3 separate regions of the Homo sapiens genome follow, and regions 1 and 2 are each linked to region 3. Evidence: promoter capture Hi-C in 16 types of primary human blood cells and fetal thymus (Javierre and others, 2016). All regions are on one chromosome and are shown on one strand. Each heading gives the region's core, a stretch centred on a gene start or on the middle of the fragment in contact. The rest is flanking DNA. Distances are from core to core; before and after follow the strand shown. Region 1 has its middle 13 kb from the start of LINC01531. Region 2 overlaps CD22 (CD22 molecule). Region 3 holds the start of SBSN (suprabasin).

Region 1 (4,357 bases), core at 1,650-4,149, 140 kb after region 3:
GACAGAGTGAGACTCCGTTTCAAAAAAAAAAAAAGCATAACTGGGGCTGGGCCCGGTGACTCGCGCCTGTAATCCCAGCACTCTGGGAGGCTGAGGCAGGCGGATCACCTGAGGTCAGGAGTTCGAGACCAGCCTGGCCAAGATGGTGAAACCCTGTCTCTACTAAAAATACAAAAATAAGCCAGGCATGGTGGCAGGCGTCTGTAGTCCCAGCTACTCGTGAGGCTGAGGCAGGAGAATCACTTGAACCCAGGAGGCGGAGGTTGCAGTGGGCCGAGATGGCACCACTGCACTCCAGCCTGGGTGACAGAGCAAGACTCCATCTCAAAAAAAGAAAAGAAAAAGCATAAATGGAATCATACTCCATATTTTTTTTGAAATTTTATTTTTCACCTTACAATATGCTTTAGTGATCTTTTCATGGCAGCCTATACCAATCTAGAGTCTTTCTAATGGCTACATGGTATTTCATTTTAGGACTGTCTTATAATTTATGTAACCATTTAGGATTAATTTACATAGTTTACAGTTCTCTTGGTATAACAAACAGTGCCTCTGCAAATTTATCTATTACCTATCTATCTATCTATCTATCATCTTTCTATCTAGCTAGCTAGCTAGCTATCTGAACAGGTGTGAGTATTTTGGTTAGATGAATCTTTAGATCTATAATTTATGTAATTGCTAGTTCAAAGAGGTATGCCTTGAAATTGTTGATAGATATTTGCATATTACCTTCCTGATAGTGTTTGGTAATTTACATTTCCACCAGCTGTACATGGCAGAATCCCTTCCCCTGCACCTTCTCCAACACTGGATGTTTGAATCTTTAATGTTTTTCCTCATTATGGGTAAGGATGGGTAAAAATGATGAAATCTTGTTGTTTTAGATTACATTTAGAGGATTCTTCCTACTTAAGTGATCCAGGTTCATTTCAAACCACTGTAGGAAAGGATGGACTATTCAGTAAATTATGTTGGGATAGCTGCCTATCCACTGGGAAGAATTACAGCCAGGTAACAAGAATAAAAGGCAGGTGCATTCAAGATCAAAAATGTTTTTAAAAATAATAAATGTTGTGTAGGTATTGTGTAATTTTAAAAGTCTTATAAATAAGGAGGCTTTTTCCCAGTATGACATAATGTAGAAGTCATCAAAAAATGATGAGAAATTTGAGCACATAAAAAGAGATAACCTATGAAAAACATTACAATCAACAAAGTAAAAGGCCACTATCCTTCTACTTATACACCTGATATGAGGTTTGTAAGCCAATATTCAAAGAACTCCTGTAAGTCAAATAAGAACAAAGCAAGTATTGGGAGAAACACAAATGACTCTACACAATATGTAAATATTGTCTATCTCATTTTTAATCTGGGAGATTAATATGAAAATAATACAGAGTATGACGGTTAATTTTATGTGTTGGCTTGGCCACGCCACAGTGCCCAGATATTTGGTGAAACGTTATTCTGGGTGTTGCTGTGAGGGTGTTTTTGGATGAGATTGACATTTACATTGGTGGACTCTGAGCAAAGCAGATTGCCCTCCAAAATGTGGGGGACTCCTCCAGTCACTGAAGGCCTGAACAGCACAAAAGGCTGACCTCCACATGCAAAAGAGAATTCTCCTGCATGCTGGATTCAGACTTTGTCTGCAGCAGTGGGTCTTCCTGGCTCACCAGCAGGCTCTCTTTAGACTCAACCACAACTTCTTCCTGAGCCTCGAGTCAGCCAGCTTCCTCCGTCAGATTTTGGGCTCATCAAGCATTCACAATCACATGAGCCAATTCCTTAAATAAATCTCTTTATACACACATGCAGACATGCAGACACACACACACACACACACAAACACACACACAGAAACACACAGACACACACACGGAGACACACAGTAACACACAGACACACACATGGACACACACACAGACATGCACACAGAAACACAGAGACACACACAGACACAGAGAGATATACACACACACAGAGAGACACACAGACCCACAAAAACACACAGAGACACACAGAAACACATACAAACATGCACACAGAAACACATACACAGAGACACACATTAACACACAGAGCCACAAACATACATGCACACAGACGCACACAGAGACATACAGACACACACATGGAGACACATATACAGACACACACAAAAACACACACAGAGAGAAACACACACACAGACATGCACACAGAGACACACATAGAGACACAGACAGAGACACACATACAAAAACATACAGAGACACACAGAGGTACACACACACAGAGACACACACAGACATGCACAGAGACACACACACAGATACATACACAGACACACACACAGACACACACACACCGCAGAGACACACATACACACACAGACACATGCACAGAGACACAGACACACAGACACACCCACAGACACACATACACACACTCTATTGGTTCTGTTTCTCTGGAAATCCCAGACTAATACTTAAGTTTCTAAATTCTAAATATCATCTCAAAAAATTAAAATACAATATTTTCTCTTGTCAGCAGAGTTATGGGGTCTCTTACAGACTGTTGGGGAAGAAAGGGTTGACTCAGCCGGGGAAGGTAATTCATCGATATTTATCAAAGCTTTACATGTACATATCATTTAATTCAACAGTACGACTTGTAGGAAATGCACAGTGCACGTGCCTTTATGTAAAAGGATGTTCTCATAGCATTATTTATAATAGTAGAAAATTAGAGATATTTTTAAAAAATCATTCATTCATTTATTCACCATCAAATGCCCAGTCTGTGCTAGGCACGGTTTTAGGCACCCACTGGGTATATAGTGACAAAGAAAACTGACGTGGTGACTGCTGTCATGGGCTTCTCAGTCTAGTAGGAGTCACGTTAAACAAATGAACACACACATACAAACATCAAACCATGAGAGCGCAGTGTGAGATAATATCAGAAGGGGGCTACTTGATATTGGATGATCAGGGAAAGCCTCTCTAAGGCGTGACATTGGACAGAAACTTGGAAGAAGTGGGGAACTAGCCAGGTAAAGAGTGGAAGGCATGGTGCATGCAGACATTCAGAGCTTGGCCTGCTCAAGGGACAGAGAGAAGTCCAGGCCAGAAGAGCGATGTCAGTGACACTTCTCTGGGGATGGCCCCAGAGAAGCTTGGAGAGAGAGGCAGGGCCTCAAAGGCTGTGAGGAGGAGGCCAGAATGGAAAGCCATTGAAAAGTTTTATTCAGGGCAATGACAGGATCCAATTTATATTCCTCATGAAACTGGCCTGATTGTCCCATAGATGCTTCTTTTGGATCAACGTAGAAATTCACCCTTCTTTTTTTTTTTTTTTTTTTTTTTTTAGATGGAGTCTTTCTCTGTTGCCCAGGCTGGAGTGCAGTGGTGCGATCTTGGCTCACTACAACCTCTGCTTCCCAGGTTCAAGCAATTCTCCTGCCTCAGTCTCCTGAGTAGCTGGGACTACAGGCACATGCCACCAAACCCGGCTAATTTTTTGTATTTTTAGTAGAGACAGGGTTTCACTGTGTTAGCCAGGATGGCCTTGATCTCCTGACCTCGTGATCCACCCACCTCGGGCTCCCAAAGTGCTGGGATTACAGGCATGAGCCACTGTGCCTGGCCCCCTCCTGGTCTTAAAGTTTGAAGCCTGCATTTGTCTTATCTGAGTTCTTGCCACAGGAAATCAACGAATTGAAACTCACCAGATCACTGCATCCAGACAATGAGATGCCAGACCCCTCATCCCTCCTGATTTCCTTATCCCTCCCTAATTCCTTTGACCAACTCCTCTTCCTTACCTCTCCCTAACTCTGGTTTTCCCACATGTAGTTACATTTCTTCCCTGCTGTATAACCCCCTGATTTTAGTTGACTAGGGAGATGGATTTGAGACTGATCCCCATTTTCCTTGGCTAAAGCACTCAATTAAAGCCTTCTTCCCAGGCAGTACTCATTGTCTTGGTGATTGGCTTTCTGTGCAGTGAGCAACGGGACCTAGACTGGAGCCCTGGCATTTCAGTAACAGATTTTGGTTCCCTACCTGGGAACACATTGCTTGTGGCTCAGCTGCTGCAGACTGGGACTTTCAGAAGCCCCCTGTACAGCTGTCTGACCTTTTTTTGGCTGGAGGTGGGTTTCCATCTTTTTCTCTTTGGCTCTGCTGCTGCCAGCCCCAAATGTATTGCTGATTGCCTAGGAAGAACAGACTTTGAAATTTGATATCTGTGTCTGGATGGATGAGTGTCTTTTCTGGGTTCCAGACAGCAGGAAGGGCTCCTCTCAATTTGGGAATTTTCTAAGGAATTTCCATTTGCAGGTTGAATAAGCCCAAATGATGGA
Region 2 (3,878 bases), core at 47-2,546, 190 kb after region 3:
AGGAACTTCCCATCTGCATCCTGAAGCTGGCAGGTCACAATCTTCCCATGGTGACTCCACTGTGGGGAGAACTTGAGCTCGCTCCGGGTGAAGACAGACTTGATGGTCAAGGAGGTCGAGGTGACAGCAGCCTGCCTCATTGGAACCCCCTCTAGGAGCCACTGCAATTGGATCGGATACCCATAGCAGGAGAAATTCAGCAAGCAGGTCAGAGTGACTTCCTGGGACTCTTGAATTTCTGGAGGGAGCTGGATATGAGGTGGAAAAGGCCTTTCTGCAAAAGAACAGAGCCCGTGCAGGAGCCTGGGGGACTGAGGACGTGAGCGTACACCTGGCTTTAGATGTCCTGTCCCAAATCACCCCTCAGGAACCCCTTGCCACTTCATTCCACCTCTCTCCAGTCCTGCTTTGTTTTTTTGTTGTTATTGTTGTTGTTGTTGTGTTGTTGTTTTTTTGAGATGGAGTTTCCCTCTGTCACCCAGGCTGGAGTGCAGTGGCGCGATCTTGGCTCGCTGTAACCTCTACCTCCCCAGTTCAAGTGATCCTCCTGCCTCAGCCTCCCGAGTAGCTGGGATTACAGGTGCCCACCACCACACCCAGCTAATTTTTCTGTATTTCTAGTAGAGACAGGGTTTCGCCATGTTGGCCAGGCTGGTCTTGAACTCCTGACCTCAAGTGATCCTCCCGCCTTGGCCTCCCAAAGTGCTGGGATTACAGGTGTAAGCCACCACACCCGGCCTCTTTTTTTCTTTAGAGACAGGGTCTTGCTTTGTCACCCAGGCTGGAGTGCAGTGGCGCAATCCTAGCTCACTGTAGCCTCAACCTCCTAGGCTCAAGCAATCCTCTCACCTCAGCCCCCTGAGTAACTGGGACTACAGGCATGTGCCACCACACCTAGCTAGTTTTTTAAACATTTTGTAGAGACAGGGTCTTGCCATGTTACCCAGGCTGGTCTCAAACTCCTGGGCTCAAACGATCCTCCGATCTCAGCCTCCCAAAGTGCTGGGGTTACAGGCGGGAACCACTGCACCCAACGCAGTCCTGCTTTTCTCCACTTTGAATCACTTTTGCTCACCCGAAATCCCCTCTGAAAGGCCTTGACCACACTAAGCCTCCTTGGGAACTGTGATCTACTTTTCTTTCATGCTCATTGCCGGATGTCTGCTTTCTGAATGATTGCAAAGTTCTATTCCCACCACCTCACCACCTCTTTTTTTTTTTTTTTTTTTTTTGAGACAGAGTCTCGCTCTGTCGCCCGGACTGGAGTGTAGTGGCGTGATCTCAGCTCACTGCAAGCTCCACCTTCCGGGTTCACGCCATTCTCCTGCCTCAGCCTCCTGAGTAGCTGGGACTACAGGCGCCTGCCACCACGCCTGGCTAACTTTTTGCATTTTTAGTAGAGACAGGGTTTCACTGTGTTAGTCAGGATGGTCTCGATCTCCTGACCTTGTGATCCGCCTGCCTCGGCCTCCCAAAGTTCTGGGATTACAGGCGTGAGCCACCGTGCCCGGCCTATTCCCACCACCTCTAAGTGAATTTTATCAGTTTAGTTCACGGACTTTTCAGCTTTGACAAACTTGTGTTACTTTCATGGCTTCCTTCAGTATTGCAGCCATCCACGCACCGCATTCCTTTAGTGGAGTGGGTCTGTGTGCACCCAGCCTCAGCTCTCCCCAAGGCTGGACCACCTCCTTCAGACAGCGGGGTCTGAAGTTGCATTGCTCACCCCAAATTTAAGGCTGCTCAGAACTGCCCATCCGGGAAACGGTGTGGAACGGAGTGACCACACTCCCTGTGGCAGGGGCCCCCCACACCTGTGTTTGATGGGTCAAAGCCACCCCTACATGTGCAGTGCTATAACTGAACCTATGTTATAAAAATTATAAGATGTTCGTTTTACTTCTTTTCTTTTCTCTTTGTCCTTTCCTTCCTCCATGCATGATTAGTTACATTTGGTCATTTCAGTAGCAGGTAACCATTAATTCACTCATAATTGTTTAACTTACATCCTGACTCCCTGGCAGCTGCCTGCAAGATAAATGAACTTGTCTCTCTTTCAAAGAACAATGATCCTTAGGTCACACAGACCTCCTTGATGACATCCAGAAATTTGATGAGCCGAGGGGCACAACAGCTTTGACGATCGGGAGGTCACCTCCTGCACACCTACTTTACTCATAAAAGCCCCCACTAACGCTCAAAGTCAGGTCAGATTTGAGAGTTTCTCTCTTCTGTCCCCTTGCTTTGGCTAAATTAAATAATCCTATCTCAGCTTCTAAGCACTGAGGTGTCAGTGTTTGGCTGACTACGCATCGGGAGCTCAAACCTGGCCTTTGGGGTTCAACAACAGTGTCATCTGACCTTGAAGAGCTCATGAGAACTTGCCATGAACATTAACATGCTGGGAGATTTCACTGGAAAATCTAGATTTCCATCGTCTCTTGAAAAATCAGAAGATCAGGCCGGGTGCGGTGACTCATGCCTGTAATCCTAATGCTTTGAGAGGTTGAAGCAGGAGGATTGCTTGAGGCCAGGAGTTCAAGACCAGCCTGGCAACATAGCAAGACCCATTTCTACAACAAATTAAAAAGTTAGCTGGGCATGGTGGCATGCACCTGTGATCCTAGCTACTTTGGAGGTGGGAGGATTGCTTGAACCCGGGAGATCAAGGCTGCAGTGAGCTGAGATCGCGCCACTGCACTCCAGCCTGGGTGATGACAGTGCGAGACCCTGTCTCATAAAAAGGGAAAGGAAGGGGAAGGGGAAAAGAAGAGGAAAAAAAGTAAAACAAACATTTTATGATTTTTATAACACAGGCTCAGTTATGGCACTGCACATGTAGGGGTGGATTTGACCCATCAAACACAGGTCTGGGGCCTCTGCCCTAGGGAGTGTGGTTACTCCGTTCCACACCCAGTTTCCTCTATAGGGAGCTCTGAGCAGCCCTAAGTTTGGGGTGAGCGATGCAGCTTCAGACCCCAATGTCTGAAGGGGGCGGTCCAGCCTGGGGGAGAGCTGAGGCTGGTTACATGCAGACCCACCCCACTAAAGGAATGCGGTGCTTGGATGGTTCCAGTACTAAGGCCAAACACGAGTTTGTCACAAAAGCTGAAAAATACATGGTGAGAAAGAAAGAGGGAAAGATCAGGAGATCCGATAACTTTGGAATCCAGGTCCCAGAGGGGCAGGAACTGAGGGTCAGATGGGACATCCGAGGTCCCGCAGCTCTGTCTAGTGCTGCTGCATCGCCATCGTCATCCGCTGGCGTCCCCTGCCTGAGCTCTGCAGGAAGCTCGGTTTGTGAGCTCTGTGCCAGGAGTCAGGTATTTCCTGCCTCCCACTCACCCCTGCCCAGAGCAGAGGACCCGCTCCCCGAAGGCCTTACCAGAGACATTGAGGTGTATTCGTTCCATCCATTTCTCAGTCTTGGACTCCATCCTCAGCCCCAGCTGACCACTGTCATTGAGGTGCACCGGGTGGATACTCAGTGTGCAGTTCTTATTCTTGTCTCCCAGGAATTGCACCCTTTTCTGCTCAGAAGGAACCTTCCCATCCTTTGTGCTTTCATAGAGTCTTGTCCCATCAAACTTCGAGGTGTTCTTGTTATACTCAGGATTGTGGAACAGGATGAAGCTTTCCAGGTCACCATCTAGGGCTCTGTAGGTGCAGGGGATCCAGACGCAGGCCCCCTCCCAGGCGTAGAGGGTTTCAGGGTGCTCAAAAACCCATTTACTTGAGTCAGAGAAAGCCAAGTATTCTAGAACTCACCACAGTGATCAGAAAGCATTACTAAGGGGGCATGAGAGCCTTCTTTTAAAAGTTATTTTTTATTTTAAAATTTGTTTAATTTTTTATTCTTTTTAGAGATAGGGGTCTTG
Region 3 (4,089 bases), core at 764-3,263:
AGAAGATGGAACACAGTTCAAAGTGGGAGAAATCCCACCTCTTGATCTCTGGGTGGGTTAGGATTCTGACACTCATCACCCACTCTTCTCTGCCCAGCCACCTCCTGGTATGGGAAACTCCATCATTTCGGCCCTGGACCAGGGCAGAAAAACCACACCTGAGTTTGCCCAGGAATTTGGCTTTGTCCCTGGAGTGTGAAACCGGGAAACAGATTTGATGAGCTCAAGCTTGGAGAGGTGGCACACTTAGTCACCCTCTATAGGCAGAGCCCAGAGAAGGCAGAAGCTTCTGGATATCTGTCCTGGGATGCCTGTCTTTGGGTGGAGTCAAGTGTCCAGGAGCTGGAGAGGAACCCCGGGTCCTCTGAGGGGAGTGGGCCTTGGCGCCTTTGTTTGAGCAAAGCCTGAAAACACGTGCAGATTCTCGCCACACCTGGGCACCCACACACATAGCTCTGCCACCTCCAGCTGCTCACACCCTGCACATTGTTCCTGCCTGGCCTTCCCACCAGCAATCCCACCTCCACCCCTCTCTCAGTCTCTCCCCTTGGCACCAAAACCCAAATATCTTTCACCCCTGCACCTACTGTACCCACCCACTGGCTCTCGTTCTGGTCTTAGCCTCCCTCCCAACTGGCTTCTAGATGCATCTGCTGCCCCAAGCCTGCCCACCACCACCTGCCCTTCCTTCCGATGCCCTTTTCATGCCTGAGGCCAGACTCTCAGCTGTTTCCCCTCCAACCCGAGCCAATATGTCAACACTTGGGGCTTCAGGTTGGGGCTTAGGAGGCCCCATGTCGGGAGGGCAGGAAGGATGAGGGCCTGGCCCCAGCCCAGGTTCTGGCTCACAGGCTCCTGCTGCCCTGGGTCTTCGGCCCCTCCCCGTGGCTGCCTCAACCGGCTTTTCAGGAGACACTGCGTCCTGTTCCAGCTCGTGGCAATCAGCCCCCTGCCCTTGCCCAAGGGCTGGGAGGCAGGAGGTCTGGGTTCTGCGACAGGAATGGGATCCTGCCTCCAAAATCTGCGGCACTCCACAAGGGACTCTATGCTGCCCTGGCGACCCAGGCGCCCTTCCCTCCAGCACCCTGTGAGACCCAGACTCGGGCTCGGAGTCTCTTTCCTTGGCCTGTTCGAATCCATCCATTTGTCCAGTCAATAAATATTTACTGAACCCCAGGCAGTGTTCAAGAAGCTAGGAATACAGCAGTGATCAACACGACCAATTTACATTGCTAGTAGGTGAGACAGGCAATAAAAAATAAAGGTAATTTCAGATTTTTTTTTTCTGTGAAAACAAAAGGGTGATACTACAGAGTATAATTAATGCCATGTTATGGTCAGGAGAGGTTTTCTTGCGAAGTTGGCATTTAAGTCAAGTACGGATGAGGAGGAGCCAGCCACGTGAAGATCTGGGTTCTGCATTCCAGGCAGAGAGAGGAGCATGTGCAAAGGCCCTGCAGCAGGAATGAGCTTGGTGTGTTTGTGGAACAGGGAGAAGGCCTGTGTGGCTGGAATGGAATGAGTGAGGGCAGGGGCTGGCCCACAAGAACGAGGTCTGATGACTCCTTCATCCCACCTAGTGTTCTCCCCTCTCCAGACGGTGCCTCCCATCATTCTAGCCCCTCACTGCCTGGGGAGCTGGAGGCTTAGATGCCTGAGAGGAGTGAGGTGTTGAAGAATTGCCTGCATCCCAGGGATGGAGCATGGTGGAAGGTGGGTTTGCGAGAGAGGAGGCCTGGACAGTGGGTGAGGAATGAAAGAGGAGGTGGTTGGAAGGGCAGACACCCATCTCTGGGGTGGAGGGCAAGGAGCAAAGATGCCAGAGTTCTTCTCCATCCATGACTCACCCTCTCTTCCTCCTCCTCTCCATTGCTCAACTCCAAATCTCCCTGGGAAACACCTCCTTGACTGAAGACCAACTCAGTGCCTCACAGGGGTAATTGAGTCATGAGGGGTGGAGAAGAGGGCGAGAGGGAGAGAGGATAAATAGCAGCGTGGCTTCCCTGGCTCCTCTCTGCATCCTTCCCGACCTTCCCAGCAATATGCATCTTGCACGTCTGGTCGGCTCCTGCTCCCTCCTTCTGCTACTGGGGGCCCTGTCTGGATGGGCGGCCAGCGATGACCCCATTGAGAAGGTCATTGAAGGGATCAACCGAGGGCTGAGCAATGCAGAGAGAGAGGTGGGCAAGGCCCTGGATGGCATCAACAGTGGAATCACGCATGCCGGAAGGGAAGTGGAGAAGGTTTTCAACGGACTTAGCAACATGGGGAGCCACACCGGCAAGGAGTTGGACAAAGGCGTCCAGGGGCTCAACCACGGCATGGACAAGGTTGCCCATGAGATCAACCATGGTATTGGACAAGCAGGAAAGGAAGCAGAGAAGCTTGGCCATGGGGTCAACAACGCTGCTGGACAGGTTGGGAAGGAGGCAGACAAACTGATCCATCATGGGGTCCATCACGGGGCCAACCAGGCGGGAAGTGAGGCAGGGAAGTTTGGCCAGGGAGTCGACAATGCTGCAGGGCAGGCTGGAAATGAGGCTGGGAGGTTTGGCCAGGGAGTCCACCATGCTGCAGGGCAGGCCGGAAATGAGGCTGGGAGGTTTGGCCAGGGAGTCCACCATGCTGCAGGGCAGGCCGGAAATGAGGCTGGGAGATTTGGCCAGGGGGCCCACCATGGTCTCAGTGAGGGCTGGAAGGAGACAGAGAAGTTTGGCCAGGGGATCCACCATGCTGCCGGTCAGGTTGGGAAGGAGGCAGAGAAGTTTGGCCAGGGGGCCCACCATGCTGCGGGGCAGGCCGGAAATGAGGCAGGGAGATTTGGCCAGGGGGTCCACCATGGTCTCAGTGAGGGCTGGAAGGAGACAGAGAAGTTTGGCCAGGGGGTCCACCATACTGCTGGTCAGGTTGGGAAGGAGGCAGAGAAGTTTGGCCAGGGGGCCCACCATGCTGCGGGGCAGGCCGGAAATGAGGCAGGGAGATTTGGCCAGGGGGCCCACCATGCTGCGGGGCAGGCCGGAAATGAGGCTGGGAGGTTTGGCCAGGGGGTCCACCATGGTCTCAGTGAGGGCTGGAAGGAGACAGAGAAGTTTGGCCAGGGGGTCCACCATGCTGCCAGTCAGTTTGGGAAGGAAACAGAGAAGCTCGGCCATGGGGTCCACCATGGGGTTAATGAGGCCTGGAAGGAAGCAGAGAAGTTTGGCCAGGGTGTCCACCATGCTGCCTCGCAGGTGGGGAAGGAGGAAGACAGAGTGGTCCAAGGCCTCCATCATGGCGTTAGTCAGGCTGGAAGGGAGGCGGGGCAGTTTGGCCACGACATTCACCACACAGCAGGGCAGGCTGGGAAAGAGGGAGACATAGCAGTTCATGGTGTCCAACCTGGGGTCCACGAGGCCGGGAAGGAGGCAGGGCAGTTTGGCCAGGGAGTTCACCATACCCTTGAACAGGCCGGGAAGGAAGCAGACAAAGCGGTCCAAGGGTTCCACACTGGGGTCCACCAGGCTGGGAAGGAAGCAGAGAAACTTGGCCAAGGGGTCAACCATGCTGCTGACCAGGCTGGAAAGGAAGTGGAGAAGCTTGGCCAAGGTGCCCACCATGCTGCTGGCCAGGCCGGGAAGGAGCTGCAGAATGCTCATAATGGGGTCAACCAAGCCAGCAAGGAGGCCAACCAGCTGCTGAATGTAGGTGAACAGGGATGGGGAGATGGGGGACAGGGGGGTTGGGGGAGGGAAAGGTTAAACCCCTGGGACATTTGGCGGGGCGGGGGGGTCCGCGTAGCCTTTGTTTGGTGAAAGAAGCTTGGGCAGCTATATCACTGGGTTCCTCCCCCTTCCCCATCTCCCTTACAAAGGAGCTGGTGGCAGCTGGTCAGATGGGGTGAGCCACCTTATCTGCAAAGCACGTATCAGACAGGGTGGCGGGCACCCTGTCCCACCTTCAGGGAGCTGCCCTCCTGGTTAAGGGGGCCTCAAGTGGGGCCCATGAAGCCCTTCCTGGGGAATGGGAAACAGTTCCTGAGATCAAGATCTAGTATAGTGCAAAGGGACTGAGTGTTGACAAAACCTGGTTAGGAGAGTGAGCATGAGGAAT

What was found. Contacts are between HindIII fragments. The CHiCAGO score rates a contact against its expected background, and 5 or more counts as called.
Region 1: a fragment that was not itself captured here is called in contact with the fragment with the promoter of SBSN in region 3 in 5 of 17 cell types (M2 macrophages, M0 macrophages, M1 macrophages and 2 more); the score reaches 8.9 in M2 macrophages.
Region 2: a fragment that was not itself captured here is called in contact with the fragment with the promoter of SBSN in region 3 in 9 of 17 cell types (megakaryocytes, M1 macrophages, erythroblasts and 6 more); the score reaches 8.4 in megakaryocytes.

Annotation. Positions count from the first base shown.
Region 1 is chr19:35,390,896-35,395,252 of GRCh38, reverse strand. No RefSeq gene overlaps it. Among named protein-coding and RNA genes, the nearest start is that of LINC01531, 13 kb to the left of the region's middle. The HindIII fragment of the contact is 543 bases long and covers 2,628-3,170 here.
Region 2 is chr19:35,332,432-35,336,309 of GRCh38, reverse strand. CD22 (CD22 molecule) reads right to left here. Exons shown (of 14, transcript NM_001771.4): 3 at 3,386-3,763; 4 at 1-274. Among named protein-coding and RNA genes, the nearest start is that of CD22, 5.2 kb to the right of the region's middle. RefSeq lists a silencer at 2,796-3,005. The HindIII fragment of the contact is 4,678 bases long and covers 1-3,635 here.
Region 3 is chr19:35,526,235-35,530,323 of GRCh38, reverse strand. It overlaps SBSN (suprabasin), which reads left to right and starts at 2,013. Exons shown (of 4, transcript NM_001166034.2): 1 at 2,013-3,680. The coding sequence starts at 2,043. RefSeq lists enhancers at 862-1,362, 2,808-3,309. The HindIII fragment of the contact is 2,098 bases long and covers 289-2,386 here.